7 separate regions of the Homo sapiens genome follow, and all the other regions are linked to region 1. Evidence: promoter capture Hi-C in 16 types of primary human blood cells and fetal thymus (Javierre and others, 2016). All regions are on one chromosome and are shown on one strand. The core of a region is centred on a gene start or on the middle of the fragment in contact, and the rest is flanking DNA. Distances in the headings are between cores, read along the strand shown.

The links. The method cuts DNA at HindIII sites, captures the fragments that hold promoters and counts their contacts. A CHiCAGO score of 5 or more calls a contact.
Region 2: the fragment with the promoter of SH2D4A here is called in contact with the fragment with the promoter of CSGALNACT1 in region 1 in 2 of 17 cell types (non-activated CD4 T cells and naive CD4 T cells); the score reaches 5.5 in non-activated CD4 T cells.
Region 3: a fragment that was not itself captured here is called in contact with the fragment with the promoter of CSGALNACT1 in region 1 in 1 of 17 cell types (neutrophils); the score reaches 6.1 in neutrophils.
Region 4: a contact is called between a fragment that was not itself captured here and the fragment with the promoter of CSGALNACT1 in region 1, in 1 of 17 cell types (non-activated CD4 T cells). The highest score is 5.7, in non-activated CD4 T cells.
Region 5: a contact is called between the fragment with the promoter of SLC18A1 here and the fragment with the promoter of CSGALNACT1 in region 1, in 1 of 17 cell types (neutrophils). The highest score is 6.8, in neutrophils.
Region 6: a fragment that was not itself captured here is called in contact with the fragment with the promoter of CSGALNACT1 in region 1 in 4 of 17 cell types (non-activated CD4 T cells, naive CD4 T cells, activated CD4 T cells and 1 more); the score reaches 7.7 in non-activated CD4 T cells.
Region 7: a fragment that was not itself captured here is called in contact with the fragment with the promoter of CSGALNACT1 in region 1 in 14 of 17 cell types (non-activated CD4 T cells, total CD4 T cells, neutrophils and 11 more); the score reaches 16.5 in non-activated CD4 T cells.

Annotation. Positions count from the first base shown.
Region 1 is chr8:19,755,827-19,758,526 of GRCh38, forward strand. CSGALNACT1 (chondroitin sulfate N-acetylgalactosaminyltransferase 1) reads right to left here and starts at 1,451. Exons shown (of 9, transcript NM_001354483.2): 1 at 1,360-1,451. The HindIII fragment of the contact is 8,664 bases long and covers 1-2,700 here.
Region 2 is chr8:19,312,384-19,316,460 of GRCh38, forward strand. SH2D4A (SH2 domain containing 4A) reads left to right here and starts at 1,310. Exons shown (of 10, transcript NM_022071.4): 1 at 1,310-1,440. The HindIII fragment of the contact is 8,347 bases long and covers 1-4,077 here.
Region 3 is chr8:20,200,356-20,204,136 of GRCh38, forward strand. All of the region lies in intron 1 of ATP6V1B2 (ATPase H+ transporting V1 subunit B2), which reads left to right. Among named protein-coding and RNA genes, the nearest start is that of ATP6V1B2, 4.9 kb to the left of the region's middle. The HindIII fragment of the contact is 3,998 bases long and covers 82-3,781 here.
Region 4 is chr8:19,271,116-19,274,871 of GRCh38, forward strand. The region is part of intron 4 of LOC105379300 (a long non-coding RNA gene); the gene reads left to right. Among named protein-coding and RNA genes, the nearest start is that of SH2D4A, 41 kb to the right of the region's middle. The HindIII fragment of the contact is 388 bases long and covers 2,157-2,544 here.
Region 5 is chr8:20,180,466-20,184,453 of GRCh38, forward strand. It overlaps SLC18A1 (solute carrier family 18 member A1), which reads right to left and starts at 2,671. Exons shown (of 16, transcript NM_003053.4): 1 at 2,598-2,671; 2 at 376-622. The coding sequence starts at 499. The HindIII fragment of the contact is 10,670 bases long and covers 1-3,988 here.
Region 6 is chr8:19,328,022-19,331,651 of GRCh38, forward strand. All of the region lies in intron 2 of SH2D4A (SH2 domain containing 4A), which reads left to right. Among named protein-coding and RNA genes, the nearest start is that of SH2D4A, 16 kb to the left of the region's middle. The HindIII fragment of the contact is 652 bases long and covers 1,823-2,474 here.
Region 7 is chr8:19,354,665-19,358,310 of GRCh38, forward strand. SH2D4A (SH2 domain containing 4A) reads left to right here. Exons shown (of 10, transcript NM_022071.4): 5 at 2,539-2,619. Among named protein-coding and RNA genes, the nearest start is that of SH2D4A, 43 kb to the left of the region's middle. The HindIII fragment of the contact is 4,329 bases long and covers 1-3,646 here.

The DNA of each region.
Region 1 (2,700 bases), core at 201-2,700:
TATTTTGATATTGTATTATGTGGAGTACATATGGTGTGGCAGCTCAAGGCAGACGAATTATTAAATATGTACGGTGATCTTACAATGGGTATGGCCCGTCTCTTGCTTTCTAGGAATTGACCATCTTCCGGCAGCCCAACACCTAGTCCCCTGTGTATTATGCACTATTACAAAACGTGTTCAAGTCGCCTTTTATGCCTAAGGCTTACATAAAAATTCATCTTGCCTTTCTGCGTCTATTTCCAAGTTTGAAGGACCTTTCTCCCTCCAATTAGCAACATTTCAGCACTGCACAGGGCTTATTAATGCTCACTGTTGCAAGTAACACCAAGGTAATTTGACTTTCTTGTAGGAACAATGTCGACGAAATCCTACAGAATTAAATTTAAATTTCCAGTTTAAAAAAAAAAACCGTGAAAGAACACTTCATTACCTTTATTATCTAGACGTATCTAATGACGTTAAGTAAAAACTGCACCAAGGCTTTGAAACCAGAAGAAAAGTGGAGTTTGTGAAATTTAACCACTCCATGCTTTTTATTAGTATTTCACTTATGAGTATTTCCCGAGGCTCACTGTTTTGGCAGGCACAGTGCTGTTAACATCTCTTCCTTTCTCACCATTCTTTGCTCATCGATGAAAAGATAACTTCAAAATCTCTGACAGGAATGCAGGTGCAGGAAGTGCGACGGAAACAAACAACTTTGCCTCCGCTTCCTACAGCTTTCCTCTCCTCCCCGCCCTTCTAGCCCCCATCCCACCCCAAGATCATGCCCTCGAACAGCTTCTGCCCACCGATCGCACGTCCCCTGGGCATGTTCGGGCAGCGGTGACCCTCAGCCACATCCCCCACTAGCCCGGTCCCGGGCAGGCGAGCGCGCTGCCCACCGGCCACCCTCGTCACGCCCCCTCCACCCTCTCCATCCCAGCCACAATAATACAATAACCGCAGTCATCGCGCGGCACGTGGAAAGGCTACTTTTCAGTGGGTTTTGCAGAAAGCAATCAGACAGCGGAAGGCCACGAGAAACGCTGGTGAAGCCAAACCGACCCCGGGAGCGCAGCGGCCCCGGACCCTCCCTGGAAGCTCCCTCCGCGTCCCCGCGCGCCCACCTGGAGGCGCCGCGCCCTCCGCCTGCCAAGCCGGTCCCCGGCCCCTGCCCGTGCCCTGGGCCCCCGGCGGGCAGCGGCGGAGGGAGGCCAGGCGCGGCACCGTCCTCCGCAGCTGCACGAGCCACCCCGAGGTCGCGGGGTGGGCGGGCGCGAGCTAGGCGCGCGGGGCTGTGGGGATCTGCCGGCGCCACTGACGCCCCCGCGCGGCACACCGCGCCCGGCTGGCCCGGGAGGGGACCCGACTCACCCGAAGCGCCCTGCTAGCTGCCCGGCCCGGCTCCGGCCGCTGCCGCCGTCGCTGAACTTTCCCTCCTGCGCGGCCGCCGCGGACTCGGCTCCACCTCCCGCTCCGGCAGCCGCGGAGCCTCCAGGGACCCCGGGGGCGGGGAGCAGCGGCGGCGGCGGCGGCTCGGGCGGGCGGGCGCAACAGCGGCCAAGCCTGGCGCCCCGCCGCAGGGTAGGTCCGGCGGGGGCGGCCAAGGCCGGGCTGGGGTCGCGGTTGGCCGCGTACCTCCGCGTCACCCACGGCCTCTCTGCAGTGCGTCCCTGCGCCCGTCGGAGCGGCGCCCTGGCCGAAGCCTGTCACTCTCGGAAGGGGCCGCGCTCGGACACCAGGGGCGGTTTACGCGTGACTGGACACCAAGAGCCGGAGAAGTTTAGAGACTAGGACACTGTGGCGTGGCCCGAGTTGCAGGAGAGAGGTGTCCAATCTCCATGGGGTCCTTACTCTTGCAGGACAGAGTTCCCCATCCCCCTGCTCCACCCGCTCTGTTCCCTTGGCTGCCCTCCCCGCCGAGCGCCGACTTCCATGCAAAAACTTTGTAAATCGCACTTCGGGGAATTCACGCTTTAGTCGCGGTCTCTGCTGCCCTGGTCAGCTATAACGCCTCCCCTAGAGAGCTTTTACTTACAGCGAAGGTCAGGAACCCCTGTAACTCTCACACCGCACCACTGTGGGTAAGCGATGTCTGCAGGGACCCCTGACGGCCACTGGGAGGCCAGGAGAGAAGAGGGAGAGGAAAGGCTAAAAAGGCAAGTGGAGTGTTGGGTAATAAAAGATCCACCGCCACCTCCAGCACACACAGGCAGGCACCCTCCAGGGCCACAGGTCGCCTTTTATCTGTAAGTGCTCCAGCGCATCTCTGTGGGAGAGGGAGTTGGGAAATAGGATCGCCAATTTTCAGTGTAATTGAGGGGGACTCAGGAGGAGTCAGTTAGACTGGAAGAGGTCATCACCTGCAGATGCGGTTAAGCAACTTGCAGAGGCCCCAGGGCTGAGCCACCGCAGAACCGGAGCTGGAAACCAGTCCTATGACTCCTGAGGCAGTGCTCTTTCTACTACCTGGCCATGGCTCCTTCTACTGCCTGGCTCAGAGTCTCCATCTGGGAGATTCCGGCGCACCAGACTTTATTGTGGGCACAGGGTAGGCAGTCCTGAGGCTATAGGCACAGTCTTGAAGCAGCTCGGTTTCCATTAAGCTCCTGCTTACCTGCAGGAAGCATCCCTGAAGCAAGTTTTGCTTCCCACCTGGACTCCCCAGGTGGACCTATCCCCACCCCACACCCTGAGTGAACTCTTCACCCTCGT
Region 2 (4,077 bases), core at 60-2,559, 440 kb before region 1:
GAGGTACAGAGGTTAGTAGCACAGTGATAAAGCTGTTATAAGGAAGGACTTGCCAGGACCTGGAGAGAGACTGGGTGTGAGGAAGGTAGGCTGTCACAGTGTCCTGTGGGATTTTTCCTAACTGATAAACCACCCTGTATGGTTCAACTGATGCATCCATGCAGGGCTAGGATTCATTCTGACCTCGTCATAGCAGCTTTCCAGGGGCCAATCCCACTCCAGCCTAAAGCACCCCATATGCTATCATTTAAACTGCAGTAGGAACTAAGCCTTACACCAGAAATTCCTCCCTGATGGGATTCCTGGAATTGTTCCTAAATAGCTGGGTCTTATTTCCTGACAATGCCGCCTGCCCCGAGGCTTGATGTAACTCTGCACAGCTTCTGCAGTTTGGAGAGGCAGGGAAATGCCATTTTGTGTTTGAATCCAGCAGGTCAGGCTCCTAAAGAGGTCAGGTAGTCCGTGGAGAGGACTACTGGTGTTTACTGTTTATTACATCTCTCCCAATACACAAAATCTGGGGTTCACCAAAGCAGGCGGTTTTCTTCCACATGCTCCTCTAGGATGGAAAATGCCCTCCAGTGGAAATGCCTTTCCACTGTGCTTCTGCTCAATTTTCCTCCAAGATTTCCTCTAACTGTGGACTGCCAGCTCCTCCCTGACGTCTTCAGGCACCAAGCCAACCTGTTCTTGTTGCAATCCTCAAGACTCCTTTCAGCATCTTAACTTTTCCCCCAGTTTTCTTTCATTTTCTCCACCTGTCTGTGTTGACTGCGGTCTCCTTCCTTCCAGCCTTTTCCTTCCTTCATCTTGTCCTACAAAGCCACACGTGTACCGACAAGTGCCAAAGAGTTTGATCATTTACTTAATGTCAACAAAAGAAAAAAAAAAAAAGCTCCAGAGTCGCCTTGGCCTGCAGCACCCAAGCAGAGTGAACAAGTGGGGCCTGCGCACCCTCCTACCCTACACCTAGCAAGGAACCCCGAGCTCTGAAACGTGGAAAGGCCCAGATCTGCAGATTTAATCTAAGTCCTGCAGTCCCCAAGAGATCACAGACTGCAGATCCCTGTCTCATGAACTAAGAGAGGAGAGGACAAGCCTACCCCGGACTACCGCAGCTCGGGGACAGCGCGCGGGCCAGGCGGCCCGAGATGCGCAGGCCACGCAGCCTCGCCGACGAGTGGCCCTGGAGAGCCTCCAGGCGCCCGGGTGGGGCCGCGATTGCGCCCCGCCAGTCACCCCGGCATGTGGGCGCGGCGGGGCGGCGCGGGCGGGACGGCTACAAGAGCTGTTTTGCGTCCGGGCCGGAGTATTTGCTCAGCCCGCCTGCGCCGCTTGGGACGCCTCTGCCTTTCCCTCCCTCCCTTCCCCGACGGCTTCTGGCGGCCAAGTGGATGTGGCGGGTGATCGAGCCACCCTGCCCAGGGGCGCCCAGCACTGGTAGGTGCTGGGGGTGGGGCGAGGCTTTGGGGAGAGTGTGCGTGGGGTGGGAGTAGGGGGAAGGGAATTTCCTCGGAGGTTGCATGGGTGCATGGGAGGCGCAGGGGCCAGAGCGGGCGGGCGGAAGCCTCACCCCCGCCTCCACCCCTTCGCGGCGCCCGGGGCGGGCTCAGGTGCGGGGTTGGGCGGCGAGAGCGGCCGCGGCGGGTGTCCGGTGTCCGGTGTCCGGTGTCCGGTGTCTGGAGCCGCTGGCTAGGTGAGCGGCGGTCCCCGGGGCCTGGGGGCTTGCAGGGGGTGGCGGGGGAACTTCGAGGGAGAGGGTCTGCCGGGGCTGAGGACCTTCGGGGAAGTTCTGGAATCCGGCAGGGACACGCGGCGCGTGCTTCCACCCGCGGGGAGTGCAGGCCCCGGGAGGGTCCGGGCTGGCCTAGAGTTTCTAGACTCCTAGCAGGAGCACGTCCTCGACTTGCGCATGGAAATCTTCCAGGAGGGAAGTCCCGGGAAACGGTGGCAGCTGGCGCAGCACCCCCGCAGCACGTTCCCCGCGCACCGGCACCCAGGGGCGCCCCCACGTGGGGTCTGGGAGCGCGCGGAGGCCAGTGCAGCGCCGCCTCCCTCGGGCTGCAGCGGCGGGGCTGGCCCAGACCCAGACCGGGTGCCCAGTGCGCTCAGCCAAGCGGCGCCCCTGCCCGCTCCTGGACTCGGGGGTCACGCGGGCACCGGAAGGAGCTACAGTTTGTAGGTTTTCTGAGTTGTCTCTCCCTTCCCAGGGAGCTTAGAGAAGCAGCAAGCGTGGCACCTCCCCCTTTCAAACAGATGCTCCTCATCGCTCCAAAGGCTTTCGTTTGATTGCTGGTTTAATAGAAACAACGACTTGGGTACGATTATTTTAAAATAGTGAATAAATAAGTGGAAAGCATACAGGGGCATAGATTTGGCATATGAGTGGAATTCTCTATGTATACTAAATCTGTGTGTACAGTAATCTCAAATTTCTGAAGAATAGTATATATTTACAAACTGCTGTCATCTCTGGTAATTTGTTTCATCCTCAAAAACAGCCCTTTTGCTGGTAGATGAATAAGATAAAGTTTCAATAAGAAAACAAAGTTGGACCACAGAGCTGGCTGTTTTAAAAGAATTAGAATTCAAACTGTATTGTTAATGTTATAGTTACACTGTCCATACCACAATACTTTTATTTATTTTTTATTTTATTAGGTCGGTGCAAAAGTAATTGCGGTTTTTACGTAAAAAAAACCGCAGTTACTTTTTTTTTGGCCATGTAAAACACAATAACTTTTGCACCGACCTAATGTTTTTAATTTTTGAGACAGGGTCTCCTTCTGTCACCCAGGCTGTGGTGCAGTGGTGCGATCTCGGCTCACTGTAGCCTCAAACTCTCCAACTCAAGAGATCCCCCCACCTCAACCTCCCAAGTAGGTGGGACTATAGGTGCGGGCCACCACGCCTGGCTAATTTTTATACTTTATGTAGAGACGGAGTTTTGCCATGTTGCCCAAGCAGGTCTTGAACTCCTGAGCTCCAGCAATCCACCCATGTCCACCTCCCAAAGTGTTGGGATTACATGTAGAACCACTGTGCCCGCCTACTATTTTTATGATTTAGCCTGTATCTAAGGCCTTTTAAAATTGTATTTTGTTTAGGTCTCAGAGTTATTCAAAAGACAGTTGTATTGTAGAACAGTGTGAAGGTGTGAGAATCAGGCCAAATCTATGGTATCATGGAAAACAACGGATTCTCTGACCTTTTAGCAATTGGTGTTCAGAATAAATAGCAGGTGTGGGCTTGTTGCTTATCATTTCTCTCTTTTAAGAAAGGGGCTGTGTTAGCTGAGCTATTCCTTTGTTGGATCTTGAATAACCGGAGATTTGCTGCCCTTGATATAGTATGGGAAAGTCCTCTGAGTTTGAATCAGTATCAGCAATGATTACTTCCTTGTCAGGGAGTGAAAGTAGGAAAGCCCTAGTTAGTTAATTTCCTGATTTCTATTTCTTCTACCCTGGCTCCACCAGGCTCCTTCGCTTCACAGTAGATTATGTCAGATACCCACACATTAGAAGTCACAGACTGAACCAGTCCTCGTTTCACAGATGAGGAAACTGAGTCCCAAGGAGGTGAGGTGACAGCACAGAGTCACACCGCTCACTAGAGGCGGAGCTGGGAGTTGAGGCTGGAGTGCCTCTGGGTGTCTTGGGTGTACTGTGCTGAGCTTGAGTTGGGGTCTGAGAAAGCCTTGGAGCGGGGGTTAGGGGTTGGGAATTAGAGGGTGAGGGGGACAGGTGATTTACACCAGTACCATTCAGCAGTGGCAGAATGGCCACATCGTCAACGGCCTGACCACAGATAGTTGTCGGCTGGGTCCCCCAAGTATTCTTGGAGGCACAAGGAAGCCAGTGTCTTTCCTTCAAGATGAACTAGTTAATTTTAATGTTAGAAATCCACGTTTGCTATAAAAAGTAAAACAAAACAACATAAAAATGGAAATAATGTGAGAATTTCATCACAGAGGTGCCATGAACCTCCTTGCACATGTGAGAGGCTGTGCTTTTTGTGCTGTTCTTAGTGTTTGTTTGGAAGGGGAAATTGTAGAGACGAAGTGGATGACTAAGTGCA
Region 3 (3,781 bases), core at 831-3,330, 450 kb after region 1:
TTTTGTGTCCCCACTGCCTAGCACAGTGCCTGACACATAGAATGTGCCTTGTAATTGTGTAACTTGCATTTAAACTCAAAAAGCTTTGTTTTTTGAATGAAGAAATGGAGTAATGTTGACAGTTCCACTGTACAAATTAGATCCTTTTAAAAAATAGCTTCAAGATTATAGGACTTTTAAAAGAAATGGAAAACATATTCAGGCTTGAAATTAGGAAATTATCTTGAGCATTTTAGTTGAATTTCTGAAGTCACAAGGAATGAAAACTTGATTTTCTCTTAAAAGAAAAGATTCAACAACATACATAGAGCTTTCGGGTGCTATGTATTTTGAATTTGGTCATCTCCATTTTTCTTGAGACCCTAGATCAACTGGCCTTAAGTTTCTTATATCATAAAGCAGAGCCAGCCCTGCAAAAAGTCAAAATAGGAATCTTCTCCTTGCTTTTTTCCTAGAACCTCTTCTTCAGGTGCTCACTGCTCATCATGCAGATCTCTACTCTTCTTGTACAAGGGAAGATGATTGCTCTGGGTTTTTGTTTTGCTAATAAGGCAGAGGCTAAAAGACTAGGACACTTATTATGCAATGGCTGTCAACTTTTTCTGAGTATTTCGTAATCATTAAATGGTGTTACTAGTGTTGAGCAATATCCTATCCTGCAGGAGGAAGAGGATGTCATCTGATAAAATATGTGCTCCTTAAAACCCGTGTAGATTTTGGGTTTTAGATGTTACTTCATAAATACTTGTCTGGCTCATATGATAGTTCAGAATCAAAGCCAAGACATTTTGGTTGTAAAATATGTTAAGAAGGTAATATAAGCATATATCTTCTGTGTTGTCAGAAGTTCTGATTATCCCCCATTCACACACCTACGGGCTCAAATTCTTTTTCATTTGGAGAGGAGTGGTCAATATGTAGGTAAATAGAAATATTTAGGTAATTTACAAATGGGTTTTTTCCTGTTTTGAAGGGCAACTTAATGTCTTTGACAGCCATAGTTTAAACTGGTATCTCTGTTTTGGGCTGTTAATGGTAATGGTGAGGAAGGCTGGATAAATCTAGAGATAAAAGGTAGTGTTTGTTATCATTCTGCTTGGTTTTCTTTGCAGATAGTTTTAGTACCATGGAGAAGAGCTGTAGTTTTATACAAATTGTCTTTTTGTCCCCACTTGTAGTCCAAGTGCTAGAAGCTGTATGATCTCCATACTTTTTAATTGTACTGAAGACTAAGGCCAGAAATATTATAAGGGTCATAGAGTACCAATCCTAAGATTAAAGAAAAACAAAACAGTTAGAAGCCTGGCTCCCCCATTTAAAAACAAACTTATCAGGGCCTTAGTTTCCTTAGGGTGCATCAGCCTTGCCTACTGTCTTAGCCATTTTCTGCTCCTTTTAACAGAAAACCTGAAACTGGGTAATTTATAAAGAAAGGGAATTTATTTCTTAAAGTTCTGGAGTCTGGGAAGGCCAAAGTGGAGGGGCCGCATCTGGTGAGAGCCTTCTTTCTGGTGGGACTTGAAAGAGTCCCAGGGTGGTTCAGGGCATCACATGGTGAGGGGGCTGAGAATGCAGGGGCACTAGCTCAGGTCTCTCTTCCTTTTGTAAAGCCACCAGTTACCTTCACATGATAATTCATTAACCCATGAATGGATTCATCCATTCATAAGAGCAGAGCCCTCATGACCCATTCCCCTCTTAGAGGCCTCACCTGTCAGTACTGCCACATTGGGGATGAAGTTTATTGCCTGGTGCGTTAAAAAGTAAAAACCTGTTTTGCATACCTAAAATTGCAGGCTTGTGAAATTGTTTTGGGTGGTATCGCTTCATAATTCTTACAAGATACCATACCACAAAAAATGAACCAGTTCAGTTTTAGAATTTGGGCTGTAGTAGAGTCAAAGAATAAGTGGCTTTGGAGCTAGAGTGTACACATTCAGATCCTTGGGCTGGTTGCTTGTGTCCTTGGGCAAGACACAATAATTTCTCTGAGAATAATTTTTCTCTTCTAAAACTTAGAATAATGATAGCTAACTCTGTCTGTTATGGAGATTAAATGAGAATTCCTGAAAAGTACTTATTAAATGTATGATAGTGTTATCAATTAACTTGCAAGGTTACTTACTAACTTTTTAAAAGGCTGGATACGTTGTTCCAAATTTAGAGACTTTTGATGAAGTAGAATCTTGTCTTCTGTAGTAGATGTCAATTTGAGTCACTGTTTCCAGGAAAAGCTATGACTAGTGTTTCTTTTTCTTGGTCATACTTTTGCTCGTGACTGGCAAAATTTCATAGTTTGGAATGAGCTTGAATTTTAAACATGAGATTCTAAAGCAGTATTGTTGTAGAAATCAGACCTATAAAGGAGATACAATCTTGTTGAAAAAATAAAGAGAATTTTAAGAACCTGGTGTATTTTACTGATGTTGCATTTTATTCAAAACAGTTAATCATAAATCTCAATACCATATCCCCTCCCTCACCCCAGCTGTTTGGTAAAGGTTTTGGAAAGGTCTACGTTTCTGCATTTCTGAAAACTGGTTTCAAGAAAACATATTTCTAATGTAGCTCACTTTCCATTTCCACATGGCAATTTTAGAAAGCCATTGTAAAAAAAATGCTGGGAGTCTTTAAAATGAGAACAATGAAGAAATCTTTTAAAGGGTTGGAATTATGTTTTTTAAGAGTATTCAATCATTTTAAAACAGTAGGGATGGTTTTCATAAAAGTGGCAGAAAATGTGGCAAATGGGGTCTTTCTAGTAATCTAGGGGAATGATTAATCCTTTCACATGACCATCCATCCAAGTAGCTTGCTTTTTATCTAAAGTGGGGAAAAAAAAATACAGTTCAGTTGGGGGGCCTCTATTGAGACAGTTGCAGTACAATTACTGATGTATTCAAGCAAATATGTGATGTCTGGATTTAAACGTCCTGTTAGCAGGAAAGATGGAAGCCCTGACAGTGCTGTCTGCTCTGTCCCAGCATTTTTACCAGGGCTCTGGCTTCCCCGCCTGAGGCTGAAGGAATTGTAATTTTAAATTCCAAAGCCACTTGAGTGGACAGACTGGTTAGTAAATGGTTTCCTCATGCTTGGGAGTCCACATCTGTGCCAGGAATCTCTGTGCAAGCTCATTATAAGACCTCAAAAGAAATCAAGCAAGTGAAAAATTCCCAGTTGCTAGACAGCTTCATGTTAATTATTTTAGGCCTTATAGTAAATTTTCTTCAAAACTTTAGTTCATGTATTTTTTTTCAGTTGTTCTGCTTATGAAATTTAGTGAATTTTGTAGGTGTCTGGTAGAATTACTCTCCCCTGAGTGTTCTTATACCTGATCCCCATTTCACTTGCCATGCAGGTGTGATAGGTGAGGGCTTTGGGTAGGACCTGCTGGGGTAGAATTAGCTGTTTATTCCTAGGGCGCACTTTGCAGTGGAAAACAACAGTCTCTAACCTGGCAGTAACGTTTGACTTTTTTTAAAAGGATCCTTTTCTTATCTTGTTTGACCCCCTGGCCTTTCTTTCCATTGCCTACTCCGTCCTTCAGAAGCTCTTTTCCCTAGTTTTTATGACACCATTTAATTGTGGCTTTTTACCTTGCAGGCTATACAATTTCTCCAATTTCCTTTGTGACTTTTGTCACTTCTGCGTAACATTAAGGATTCCCTTTCCTCATCTACTTAGCTAAATGCTGCGTCCTCTATAAAGTTTTTACTTTTCTCCCTGAGGTGAGAACTATTCCCCTGTTTCTGCTGTGCTCCCACAAACCCTGTGCAGGCCA
Region 4 (3,756 bases), core at 1,101-3,600, 480 kb before region 1:
CTCTACAAAAAATACAAAAATTAGCTTGGCGTGTTGGCAGGTGCCTGTAATCCCAGCTACTTGGGAGGCTGAGGCAGCAGAATCGCTTGAACCCAGGATGTGGAGGTTCCAGTGAGCTGAGGTCAGGCCATTGCACTCCAGCCTGGGGAACAAGAGCGAAACTCCATCTCAAAATCAATCAATCAATCATAAAAAGAGAATCCTGTGGTTAGAGGACGCCCTCTTCAGGTAGTGACCCTTCTCTTGCAACATCATGTTTATTCAAGGTTGCTCATTCCTGTTCATCCATGTGTGGAATGTCTCTTGGACAGCCTGGGAGTTTGAGGGCTGAAATTGAAGTGAAGCTACTATGTGTCCAGTCATGGGTGGCTGATAAGAGCCTGGGATTTTATTTTATTTTATTTTTTTTGAGACAGTCTCCCTCTGTCGCCCAGGCTGGAGTGCAGTGACACAATCTCGGCTCACTGCAAGCTCCGCCTCCCGGGTTCATGCCATTCTCCTGCCTCAGCCTCCCGAGTAGCTGGGACTACAGTCGCCCGCCACCACGCCTGGCTAATTTTTGTATTTTTAGTACAGACGGGGTTTCACCATGTTAGCCAGGATGGTGTCGATCTCCTGACCTCGTGATCCACCTGCCTCGGCCTCCCAAAGTGCTGGGATTGCAGGGGCCGGGATTTAAATACATCTTCTGCAAAGGGGCTTCCACGTGTAGAAATTTTCTGTCATGCCTAAAATTCAACCCCCAGAGAGTCATTCCTTCTGCATCTGGAGAACATGGTCTTCCAGGGAGCATTATTACATGGCACTACTCCTAGAGAAATCACTCCTGAAGGTGCCATTACAATAGCAGCAGCATAAGAAGAGAAGTGAATATCATTTGCACATTAATATCATTATCTTATGCCAGGCACAGCGCTGAGCCCTTTATGTGCATGATCTCACTATATTCCAACAGTTTGAGGTGGGCATGGCCAGCCCCATTTTTATACATAAGGAAACTGTGCTTCAGGGAGATTAGGAAACATGAGCTAAGTCATGCAATTAGTAGGTGGTGGACCTGGGCACAGTGCCAAAAACTGGGTGGGTGAAAACAATAGCAATTGTTTTTCTGACAGTTCTGGAGATTAGACGTCCCAAATCAAAGTGTCAGCGGGGGAAACCTACCTGGGAGAAACCTTCTGAAACCTGGAGGAGAGACTCTTTCCTTGCCTCTCCCTAGCTTCCCGTAGGGGTCAGTAATCCTTGGTGCTCCTTGGCTTGCAGCTGCCTCGCTCCAATCTCTGTCTCTGCTGTCACATGGCCTTGCCTCTGTGTGCCTGTGTCTTCACCTGGCATTCATCTACCTGTGGGTCTCTCTCCTCCTCCTTTAAGGACACGAGCCATATTGGATTAAGGAGTCACTCTCCTCCAGTGTCAGCTCATCTTAATGTAGGTAATTACATTTGCAATTATCCTCTTTCCAAATGAAGTCCCATTGTGCGGTACTGGGGATTAGGACTTCAATATATCTTTTTGCGGAACCACAATTCAACCCATAACATTCAGTAAAATATGTCACGTGTCATGTGAACTAAAACATGCTCTTACCAAGCAAAAATATGATACCTTGAAGTTCATATTCTATTTCACTCTTAAATTTTTAAAAAACCATATAAAAGCTCCAGGTGGCCACTTGAAGAAGGACAAAATTGAAGGACACTTTCAGTTTCTTTGTCCTTATAATTCCTGTGTTAGCTTTATTTTAAATCTACTGTTTAAATTCAAATAAGTGTATTACTACCAGGGTTGTAGACAAAAACTGTGCCTCAGGTGAGTTCAAATCACTCACAGCTGTGATAAACTTGTTCTCTGAATGAAAGCATGTATTTGTGTTCCCATGTATAATTAGTAGACTTGCCAGATGAAATACAAGACATCTGTTAAATTTAAATTTCAAGCAAACAACAATGTTTATTTTGGTATAAGTATGTCTGAAATAAACATGAGGCATATTTATACTAAAAATCATTTGCAGTTTACCTGGAATTCGAATTTAACTGGGCATCTCTTATCTTTATTGTTAAATCTAGCATCTCTAGCTGAGAGACCTTGGAATTAACTTTCATGTGGAATACAAGGCTTATTAGAGGTTAAGAAACAAAAATGTGCTAAGTTGAAGCTTTCACACATATCATTAAAATTCAATAGTAACCATGACAATTATTTGCAATGGCGACCTACAAAATAATTTTTCAGGAAAGACTATTTTATCACTGACATGATTTAAAACTGCCAAACACAACAATAACAAAAGCAACCTAATTTTTAGTCAGTTTTATAATTGTTTTTACGTTTTCAACAGATAATGCGGCCTCTTATTGTTTGCATGGGAAGCTGGTGGTATCCACTGTCCCACCGTTAGTCCATTACTGACTGTGAATATTAAACATATAACATGAGCGGAACACAGTCTCAAAAGCCCTCTTTCACATCCATTATTCAATTTAATCCTTGTAGTGGCCCTTTGGATAGGCCGATGTGGTTTAAAAAGTATGTAAATGAGAAAGCTTGTGTGACTGACTTACCCACAGCCATGCACTTCCCGCAAGGTAGATCAAGGGCCAGTGGCCCTGTCTGTTAACCTTTTGCCCGGGACACCTTGGTTCTAATGCTAGTTTTACCACAAACTAAACTGACTTGAGCCACTTTATTTATCTTGGCCTCACTTTCCTCATGTATAGAAAAAGACAGAGTTGAGCCAGGTGACTTTTGAGATGTCTTCTAGCTCTGAGATTCTACAGTTCAGATCTTGGGACCAGTTCAGACCCAGGCATTTAGCCTCTTACCGTTGGCTGGGAGCAAGAGAGGAGAGCCGGGACACAGCACAGGGATGTGGGAGTGGTGTCGAAGCATCCCAGACTTTACCTCTGTCATCATTTGGCCCTGGAGCAGTGAAGTGCCGCTGTGCAAACAGCAAACAATACACACTGCACTGCACTCGCCCCTAAAACTAGAGAATGGTGCCAAGGAATCTTGCTGGGAACGCCCTTCTCATCAGCTCACACTCACACACGCCAAGAGCATGTACGCACACCGTACACACAAAGTCAAAGGACCGAGACTCTTCAGGTTCTATATGAGAGCCTTATTAAGGACGCTTCAAAATTCTCACCATCAGCCAGTGGACAGGGGGTCAGCAGCCCCATTAATCTACTTCCAGGGTGGGTCTGATCTCATTGACACCCATGTGAATCCAGTGACTTGGTCTCTAGCACAGAGTTTTATTCAAGCCTCAGTGCACTTGCTATCTCTGCCACTCAGTTTTTGTGTTTTATTATTACCTTTGTGAATTTTTAAGATATTATGTGGGTGTGCAGGCAGATGAGGCCTGGAGAGTGTGCTGGGCTGGGAGAAGACAGAAAAGCAGGTAAGGAAGAACATTAAAAGCAAAGAGAAGAGAAAGGCCTGAGGAATCCTCTTATTGCCTGCATCTAACATATATATGTATGTATGTATAATACCTATAATTCATATACATATATATCAAAATAATAACTGCAGCAGTAACAAATAGAACAATAGATATATTTAATTGCAAGACCGAATAGAGTAACATACTTTTTTCCTTCCAAGTTAATTTACGGATTTAACACAATCCCAGAGCTGGAAAAGGCTCTATGAAGCAGACTATCTGCTACGTCAGGGGTGACTTCATAAATCAGCACAACACTTCGAAAGCAAGTTGGAAATATGTGTAAAGAATTAAAAAATATCAAA
Region 5 (3,988 bases), core at 1,421-3,920, 430 kb after region 1:
AGCAGAGTCCAGAAAGGCACCCCTGTGAGAAGATCTCGCTGCCTCAGAGGCACTTGGAGTCATTAGCACCTTGAGAAGACAGTGTGGGGAGAAAGAAAAGCACAGCCAGTTCTGGCTCCGGGCCATCCTCTTCTCCAGTCAGACCCTCTCTGGACCTCCTGCTCTTTGAACCTCCTGAGTCTTTTAGCTGTGTTTGACAAGTGTCAGACTCCATTTTCTGCAGGGCTTTTTTCCAGTCCCCAACAACCTCTGTGTGTTTTTGAGCATAAAAAGGAAAATTCTCAGATGGATTCACTGTTGAACTCAAGCAGGGTGTACACTGCCTGCTGGGGCCCACAGCAAATTAACCCTCAGCACAAAGACCCACAAACGTACCCACCACAGTAAACAGCATGTTGTCCAGGAGCAAAGCGACGAATACCACCACCAGCACCAGCTGCCGGGACGCTCTCCCCTCCTTCAGCAACCGCTGGGGAGCATCCAGAATGGTCCGGAGCATGGTGATGGCCGGACTGGGGCAGTCTTCCCCTGCGGGCTCTTAGGGAAGGTCCTGTGACAGCTACAGGTCTCCTGCAGCCTTTATGGAAGAGGGGAGGGAGTCTGCCCAGACGAAGGAAACTCACTATTAAAACGAAAAGTGCAAAGGGTTGCAAGTAGTAGGATGATATTTGGAAACATCTCCATGTCTGTATCACTGTTCACTTCTTATAAATCTCAATAACTCTACCTGGTTCCCAGAATGCCTTCCTGGTAAGCATCGCTTACTAGCTATTTATGTCTGGATTTATATCTAGCCATTAATTTCCCTTGAATTTAATGGCTAGGTATAAATCCAGATAAAAATAGATGCTCTACAGATCACTTAACCCTGTGTTTTTCAAACATCCGACATTTATTTGCCTATCACCTTGATGGTTTATGTCATATCTAAGGACTACCTGTACTATCATTTACTTCATCTTTTTCCTCTAGATCCACTCTTTTAAAATATTGAGATACTGCCAGGTATGGTGGGATGTGCCTGGAGTCTCAGTTACTTGGGAGGCTGAGGTGGGAGGATATCTTGAGCCCAGGAGTTTGAGTCCAGCCTGGACTACATAGCAAGACCCCTAACTCTCAAAAAATTTTTAAAACCAACATAGATATTGATATCATGTTTCAAAAAGTTATTTTATGTGGCATGCAAAAAAAGTATGACCTTTGTTCTAGGTGCTACCCCAAAATATTTCATGTGGCACAGTGTCACTTGGGCTGCCCACTGAGAAACACTGATGTAGACCAACCTTCATCTCATAGACAAGAAATCCGAGCCTCTGAAGGTTAGGAGATTTGTTTGGGGTTGCACAGTTAGTGTCAAACTGGGATGAAATCCCACGCTTTTCAACTTGCCAGCTTATCCTCTACCATGTTCCCTTGCTCTGTGGTTCTAGAAGCACGCTCATTCTTTTGTTTGAGCTACAAACCCCTGATCAGAAAGATGCCTTCATCTGTGAAAATAAAATATTGACTTTCATGATTAGTTCTCTATTCAGGATTTCATATCATTAGTCAGCATTAAGTCACAGTACCTTGTCAAACTTCAAGTAATAAGAGTTTCTGGGGAGAATTTCATTTTCTTTGACGTGGCTTCTGTTGTGGTATCAACAATATCACTCATTTAAATTTTAAAATAGATTACCATCATGAAATCTATCAGGCCCTAAAAATTGTATACTCTTTGACTTAGTAACTCTACTACAAGGAACCCATCCTACAAAAGAAAAAAGGTCAGAGATGCAGCCAAAGACTTATACTCAAAATGATCAATTGCAGAATTATTTTTCTTAGTGAAAAAAGTCAAACATGTTAATGGTGGATTATTAAGCGGCTCTTAAAAATTATATTTTCAAATAATTTTAATGATACAGAAAATACTATTACTATAACGTTAAGTAAAAAAGGGAAATTAAACTGTGTTTTCAACTTTATCTCAATTGTCTAAATATAAATATATGGGCACATTTTTGAGAGAGTAGAGAGATACTCAAATGCCAGTTATTTATAATCAATGACTTCAGTTATCTTCTGTGTATTTCTAAATATTCAATAATGAGCTACTTTTGTAATTAAAGAAGTAAATAATTTTAAATGATTATCACTGAAATTCAATAGTCAGCCTCAGGTGTTGGGAGTACCCCAAACACTGAGGTACTCTGTTCTAAGCCCAGGGCTGGAAGAACCCTCTCACTACTACATATTAACGTGACCAAGGTCCTAAGTGAACCAAATTCTCAGTTAAGTTTTAACCAGTAAATGCATGCAATTACTTAAGATCCTTCATTTCTCTATATAAAGGAGGTATTTCTGAATACAAATTGACTTAGGATATGTATGGATAAGAATAAAAGACAAGCCATGGAAAATTAAAAAACATAGTGAGTGAAGTAAGTACTACAAAGAGAGAGAAACACACACACCCAAATCCCAAAACAAAAACAAACAAAACCAGGAATTTGCCAACAAATCAATAGTAAACTTTACTTAACAGTCAAAATCCTCTGACAGAGACACAAATCACAAGGAAAGATTAAATTTGTCCGGAGAGAGAAAAATCTTACCTTGGAGCCCATGTTGGTGTGAGGCACTCAGTGAGGTATTGGCAGCTGTTAGCAAGACAGCAGGGACACTGTTCTCTGAACGTGGATGTGCTGTTGGATTTATTGCCTCCTGTTATCTGAGGATTCTGTGTATGTGTGTGTGTGTGTGCCTTTGTCCACAAAGATTTAATTGCAACCTCCAACAGGGTTCATTCAGACCCTTAGCTCCCTGCGTCAAAGGCAGGAAGGCAGGGCTGGAGAGGATAAAGAGAGGGCAGATATTAGCCTAAGCAAAGAGGCACTGGACTGTACTGTTTTGCATCTGTGCTTATCTATCATCGAACTCTTTAACTCTTGCCTGGGTCTGAATACAAATTGGAAGCCAAGATGGAACCAGTGTGCAGTTCCTGTTCCTTGCTACTTAGTCAAAGTGGCTCCATGTACCCCAATTAGCTTCCTGGAAAGAAACAATGTATGTTGTTCTCAAGCCATAAAAACCCAACATCTGTGGCCTCTGTAAAGGCTTAGATTATGCACTGTGTCTTCACATCTCAATACTGGCTCAGTGCCTGATACATGGTAGCATCCAATAAATATTTCTTGCATGGATGACTGGATGGTTAACTACAGGAGAAAGTGCAGTTCCTTGTGGGATCTTGAGAGGCTCTAATGATCTATATTATTCTGACATTAAACCATTGGTGGCTCAAAGAACATAAGCAATTTATGAAAAAGCAAATACACTTTACGAGCAAGAGCAGTGCAGAGATTTCCTATTTGTGGAACTGGTGGGCCCCTCCTAATTGTGGGAATTAACTAGGGAACTTTCGATTTAACGCTAAAAAAAAAGAAAATAGTTTTTTAATTTTATTTTTTTTATTTTTGAGACAGAGTCTCGCTATGTCACCCAGGCTAGAGTGCAGTGGCATGATCTTGGCTCACTGCAACCTCCACCACCTGGGTTCAAGCAATCCTCTAATCTCAACCTCCTGAGTAGCTGGGATTACAGGTGCATGCCACCATGCTCAGCTAATTTTTGTATTTTCAGTAGAGACAGGGTTTCACCATGTTGGCCAGGCTGGTCTCGAAGTCCTGACCTCAAGTGATCCTCCTGCCTTGGCCTCTCAAAGTGCTGGAATTACAGACGCGAGCCACAGCGCGCGGCCTAGATGGAAACAGTTTTAAAATGTAAACCTAGAGCGAGAAATAGGGATAGGAAACAAAGACATCAGCAGAATGTATTCATCGCTATAGTTTGCTGCTGTAACAAATTACTACAATCTGGTGGCTTAAAACAACACGTATTTAGTATCTTGCAGTTCTGGAGGTCAGAAGTCCAAAATACATCACACCGGGTTAAAATGAATGTGTCGGCAGGGCTGCATTCCTTCTGGAGATTCTGGGGGATGGTT
Region 6 (3,630 bases), core at 899-3,398, 430 kb before region 1:
CTGGTCTCCTCCACTGTTTGGTTATTTGGGGCATCAGAATCCTCCATGTTTTTCGTTTGTTTATTGTCAATCAGGACTCTCTTTTCCCTCCCCTTTCTTCTGCCCTCTGAATAAAGCACCTGCTTTTCCAAGGTTCTCTTCTTGGCTTCATTCTCTCTATGAGCTCATCTGTACCAGTGGCTTCAATAACGCCACCTATAGAGTCATTCCCAAGTCTACATGGCTAATCTCGGCCTCACTTCTGGACTCCAATTCTGGATTCCAGATGTCGATTGAAAGTCCTCATATGGATTTCTAGTAAAAGTAAAAATAACGTAGTCTACGCTTCCAAAACAGCTTGTTTTTTTTTTTACTCCTTAAGCAAATGAATTTTCTTGTCACTACTTCTGCCTGTCCGCTGCTGTGTTCCCAGTTAGCGAGTTTCAGGATTCTGGCATCATCTTTGAGTCCTTCCTTAAATCCAGTGGCCTGAACCTTCCTAAATTCTTGAATACTGTCATTTCCTATGCCTGCCCTATTTAGGACCTGACTGCCTCACTCCTGGTCTTTTGACCCCTAGTCTCTCCCCATTCTCTCCCCAAATGCTGACTGAATACCCACCACATGCCACCCTGGTCCATCCTGTATATACTGACATGCGGAGCAGAGCTTCCTCAATCACTTTCTGATCCAATCCTTGCACCATCTGCTCAGAAATATTCGTGCATTCTTCATTGGCCACTCAGATAAAGAATGTGAAAATAATACACTGTGAGCATTTGTCACCTAGCAGGCCTGTGAGGTAGGACTTTCTTACCTCTGTTTACTATAGAAGGAACTCAGGCTTGGAGACATAAATTGATGTATGCATGGTCTCATAACTTGTCAGGGGTAAAACTGGGATTTTGCTCTAGCTTTCTGGCTCAGCTGCAGTACAGGTCCTAAATTTCAGTCCCTTAGCCAGGTGTGTGGGACCCTGTGCCACATGGCTCTCTGCTCCCCTGTGTGATGGTCAGCCTATGCCACACACGTGCAGGTGACTTCTGGTGCCCCTCTCGGCCCTGGTGGAGACCCTCATTTCCTATTGCCCATGGCTGCCTGCTGATTCCCTTCTCTGTTCTTTGGTCATGTTGTTCTTTGCATCCAGCGTCAAACACACCCTCACTCTCTGTCTAAATTCCATATCCATCCTCCCATACTCAGTACAAAGAACTTGTCGTATTTCTCTTCTGTCTTTACAGAGCAATCTCTCCATCCCCTGAATCCTCACTGGACTTAGTAGAAAATCCACTGTGGTTATAATGTATGCTGCCCTGGCCCTCCAGGGACTTAGTTCTTTTTTTTAAGCATTCCCATAGCATCCTTTAACACCACCCCCACCAGCTTTTGAAGTTCTAATAATTTTAGAATTAATTAAGTATCCATGTCTGCTTTCCACAACTAGAATGTTAGTCTCCTGAGGACAGGGACTACTAGAATGTTAGTCTCCTGAGGACAGGGACTACTAGAATGTTAGTTTCCTGAGGACAGGGACTAGACCATCTTGTCCTAAGTGTTTACTTGTGTGATATGGTTTGGATCTGTATCCCCACCCAAATCTCATCTTGAATTGTACTCCCATAATTCCCACATGTTGTGGGAGGGACCTGGTGGGAGGCAATTGAATCATGGGGGCAGTTTCCCCCATACTGTTCTCATGGTAGTGAATAAGTCTTCTGAGATCTGAAGGTTTTATCAGGGGTTTCCACTTTTGCATCTTTCTTACTCTCCCTTTGCCTGCTGCCATCCATGTAAGACGTTACAGGTGCAAGTAGCTCCTCCTTGCCTTCTGCCATGATTGTGAAGCTTCCCTAGTCATGAAACTTTAAGTAATTAAACTCTTTCTTTTGCAAATTGCCCAGTCTTGGGTATGTCTTTATCAGCAACTTGAAAATGGACTAATACACTGTGTCTACCTCAGTGCCTGACACGTATTAGATATGTGATGAAAATTCATTAAATGCATCACCTAATGTCTTGCTCCTTCTCTTGTAGACTCTAGGTTACTTGCAGGGGAATGGGCACATCTCTTTCATCCCTTTCATTCCTGTATCACCTGCAGCATCTAGCTCTACATCTTGCTAATAGCAAAAACTCATTTTCTGCCTTGTAGAATGAACTACTACGAAGGCCTTGAGAGTCATCCCCTCATCTGATGTGAAGCCGAGGGTATCCCAGCTAACACTCATTATACTAGAACAACTTCCCCCTCCTCCTACAGCTTCAGGGAGTTCATGGAACCACTTGAAGCTCCTCCAGTATCCCCACTCTCTGAGCTCATTGAAGAGCTCTTAGAGGTGAAAAGTCAGCAGAGAGACCATTGTCAGTGCCACTCTGTCAAGAGCCCGTTTTTCAGCATCTCACTAACTCTGACATTTCCCATCTCATTCTCTTTCTTCTTGCCAAGAGCCACTGCTTCTTTATGGTCACTGTGTTCTCTCTGTTACCTCCTTTAAAGCTTTCTTGACTCTGCTCCTCTCCTTTGCTCTCTTCTCTGTGTTTAGCTTTGAAGCCCCAACTGCTCACATGCAGTCCTAGGATTTCTCTCCCCACCTGCAGCAATGCCCCTTTTCCCTAAGAGTTCCTGCCCTGCCCGTAGCCCCTGGAGGCTGTTCTGGAGCTGTTCTGGGCTGTCCTAGCTGAGGTGCTGGAATCCCTCTGCTCTTCCTTTTTCTTCCCCTGGCACAGTGCCACTTGCCATCTTTCTGGGCATCTTCCTCTTGCTGTCAAAAAAAAAATACCGACAGAGAACTACTTAGGTGAAGGCTGAGAGGCTGACATAAAAAAAATATTATTAGTTGGCCTGAGAGAGTGTAATAAAGGGAGTTTTATGAGGTATGACAGCTTTCTAAAGTTAACAAACCATCTGGCATTATGTCAAACAGACAAAGAGCTTGCCAGGAGCTGGCACTGGTGCCCAGCCCCATTTGGGCATGGTGGGATTGACCTTCCCCTCCTTACCTGGAGGCCACATTTGCTGTTTCTCCACAGTGAAAACAGTAAATGGGAATTCTTTGGTAGTGCAGAGTCTGAGTCTGTTCCCTCTGCCCAGCGTCTCTGTTTAGAACATACTGCAGGAGTGTCCACTGTACCAAGAAGGGTAGAAAGGGTCAAAAGAAAGCACGAGCCTGGCTTTGAGCAGCCTGCTTTGGTAATGTATCCCAAGGCCACAGTACAAAAGTCAAGAATACGTTGGACAGAAGACACCTTAATTGGAAACCTCCTTTGACTTAGTGTGAGAGGACAAGACACAATCCCAGTGTGGATGTTTTGCTCATCAAACAGGGCCCAGCACACACACCAGCCAGGTGCCCTCTTCCATGCAGTCAGCACCACTGCTAGTTTGGGGTCTTGACTAGAGGTCCACCTTTGGCCCACAGTTGCCCTGGGTAGGCCTGACAGACTCAGGGATGGTCTCTGTTGGCCTCTCCTAGGTACGCTCCACCTGCCCCCGGTTTAAGGGAGCATGACCGATGTGGCCGCATTTCAGGAGCACTAGGATATAATCTAACCTGGAGGCCAATTGTAAACAAGGGTTATTTAAGTAGCTTCACCAAGTATCATACTACCTGGTTATATTATCTTCTCACAGGCTGGTGTGAATCTCTGAGG
Region 7 (3,646 bases), core at 588-3,087, 400 kb before region 1:
GTACATGAGATGAACTGTTCAGTTTAAGGAATAACTGAGGGATGGAGGATAACTCACGCATTGTGTTCAAAGCACTGTACCCATACAGATGACAGTAATTGGCGGGATATTGAGGGGAAACTGACAAAATAGACAACACTTTTGAATACATGGATTAGAAGATAACCATCAGATGCCTATTAGCTTAATGCTAATTCAGGAAGCAACTAAGAGTGTGTTTTAAAGCTCAAAGACTAAGGACAGCAAATGTGCTGCGGACAAAACCTTGGTCCAGAACTCCAGTTTCATAAGTCCAGATCTGTCTGATTCTGCAACAGCTGCTCTGCGTCTGTTCTATTTTAGATGTAGAGCAGCGAAGTATCCTTTTATAATATTAAAATGAGAAAAAAATGAAAGTATGATAAGTAGCAATTGTGAAACCTACAGGATTCATTAGTTTGCCAAGTAATAAACATAGCATATTTGAAACATTCTCTGCAATACTTGCGGGAGTATTAAGAAAGAAGGGTTACCTGCCTCCTAATTTTCAAATATAAGAAACATCCTTTTTGCAAAACGGTGCCCCAAAGATCTTATATCATCAAAGAAAGAGAGAGTGGGCCTGTTTTTAAAGCTCTCCTTCCTGGTGGTGGAAATGCACTCAGAGATTTTAAAAGTCATCTTGGACTTTTGAGCAGACGCGCTTACATGAAACTTGTGGGAACAGTTCACTCTGTTCCCAAATAGAGGAACTGGTTACTGTTCTAAGTTTAGACGCAGAGCAGCAAAGTATACTTTTATAATATTAAAATAAGAAAACAATGAGAATATGGTAAATAGCAATTGTGAAACCTACAGGATTCATTAGTTTGCCAAGGAATAAGCATTAGATATCTGTTGACCCGCATCTCATTTTCTTATCACTACAATGTCAACATAGTGGAAAAAGCATAAACTCTGGCACAAACCAGCTGTCTGGTGCTGAGCAAGCTCCACAACTCACCTGAGACTTGGTTTCCTCATCTGAAAATTGCCCATTATGTTGCCCATCCATCACAGATGTTGTGTGGAGTAAAAATAATACTAAGACACTAACATGGTGCCGGGTCATAATACGTCTTCAGTATGCATTAGTGCTCATTAGCGGAATTAGCATTAATCTCACCACCTATGATTAATTATAAAACCTCAGCAGAGAGCTTGAAACATGCCTCCAGCAACTGTTGTGACCAGTTTTATCAGTTGATAGGCTAAACTTTTGAAGGAAATAGTCCCCAAATGCCATGGCCAAAAATACAATAAAAGTTATTTATTTGTCTTCAGACAGTCCAGAATAGGTGTTCTAGTTCAGGAGGGCTCTGCTCCACACAGTCATTCAGGGACTCAGGCTTTTGTAGTCTAAGTATCTGCTATCTTTGGTAGTAGCACTGCTGCTGTCACCATTCCAGCCCAAAGGAAGGTGGAAGTGGCCTGCAGGAGTGTGTGAAGGAGGTTTCAAGTGGGCCTGGGGAGAAATGGCAAATGCCTGTTGTCAACTGCATTATGTTAAGACAACCGCTGAGGCATTTGGGAAATGCGGTATAGTGGGGTAGCCACATGCCAGCCACTTTGAGAAAAGGGGAAGATTGAGAAAGCCACTGGTTTATTGCATGGTGCAGTAATGATCCTCTGTACTCCTTCTGAATGGTGGCACCAACCTTTTGCTGAAATTTTAGTGACAATTTCCGATGTATGCCAAAATTAAGAACTCAGACACAAGGCATATACTTTGCGGTAATGTGGGTTGTGGGTAGGTATATCTGGGTACTCAGGACATTTGACTACCCATGTTGGGACTTAGCTTAGGCTCTGCACTCCAGCCAGGGACTGATGGGGGCCTGTGTCTTAAGAAGCACCCATTGTGATTTGCTGGCATACTTGTGATGCCAGAGGGTTGGCCTGCGGCAGGCAGGAATGACACCAGGGACTTTAGGCAATGAATCTGGGAACCCCAGTGGGGAGGTTGCCTCATGGGAAATCCATCTAGAGCAGGAGAAACATAGATACTGGGTGACAAGGGCAGGAAAAGAGGAGAATTGTGGGCCAGGCAGGGAAACTGGGCAGGGCTCCCACGCACCAAACTTGTGCTCCAGGCATGTCTGCAAGGCATCATATAGTTAAATCCAGAGACTAAGGCATTTCTTTGGCCTGCACTAAAACAGGGTATGCAGAGATTAAGCAAGAAGAGAATTTAAATAGGGGGTAATGTTGATGGCTGGAAGTTATCCCCAGGGCCCTCCAGGGCCAACTAAATGGGAGCAAAATATACCAAACCACCAGCTCCTCGCTCTTGGGCAACAATTCCTTTCTAAGCCCTACTGAGTGGGGATACTGAGGATTCACATGCCCGTTGCTGTAGTCAGGATCGGCCCAGGAACTCAGGTGCCAGTGGGAGCCTTGGGTGGATCCATCTGTAGGGGCGGGGGCAGCATTAGGGAAACCAGGGAAACATTGACAGATTATCTTATGAAACTGCACTGCAGCTCCAAATGCCATAAATGTGTTTCGTTTAATTTTTAGTCACTCTCCAGTTCTTCAAGAAATATTCAACAAATGTTGGCAGATTCAATCAATCGTATGAAGGCATATGCATTTCACCAGGTAAAAGACTTCCCTTCTGTCCTCCGGGGGCTGCATACCTAGGCATTTCCACTAATGTTTCACAGATTAGTTAATTAATCTCATGCAGAAATGAAATTAAGCAGCAGGATGGGAAATCTGTCCTAAAAGCTGCAAACACAGTTCTGCATCTTTACCCGTTTATCTGGAGTTCGGGAAGTGTTGAATGTCATGGAAAGAACAGATGCCAAGTTGTATTAGCTAAACTCCTCCCAGAAGATCTAACATAGAGGCGGCATCCCAGGCTGCTGCAGACATGGAGGGAAGACTGATTTCAGACAGTGATAAATGGAGCATTACACTTGGCAGAAAGAGTGAATTCAGATCGAGTTACTTCTGTGCTCTTTGTTTCTGAACCTGTCCCTTGAGGGTGAGCAGCTGCTGTGTCCTCCACATCCACCATGCCTGGAACCCCTTCTGGCACTCAGCCCTCTCTCACGTCCATCTAGATGTGACATTCTCCCTCCAGGCCAAGCCCTGCTTCCTCCGTCGTGTGAGCTTGCTATCATGTCATAAATTGCTCAAAATAAATGAGGCATAGACTGGTACTTGGAAGCTGTAGTAGGATTTGACCTACCGAGAGTCTGAAACAGCAGCGTAAGATGTGAGCCTGTGAAGAGAAGGTTCCTGAGATCGGGCTGTGGTGGAGGTCAGGCCAGGGACCTGTGTTCCTGTGGACCATGCCATGAATTCCATGATTCCTCTGAAGGGACATGCATGAACTTGCATTTTTAAGACTTCAAGAAATCAGGATGAAGTTGTGGAACTGTAGTCCTGTGTGCATACTGCTGATACAATACATACTTCTTTCTAAAACAGCAGCAATAGGGGATCTAAAGGACATTTTCATTAATTCTGCTTAGATCTCACTATGTCATTTTAAATGGGGACAGCTGAGGAAGACAAAGGATCGTATATTCATCCAAGCAACATTTATTGAGTGTCTACTACACACTAGGCACTGTTATGGGAGTTAGAGACACATTTTATGAAAAAATCAGACAAAATT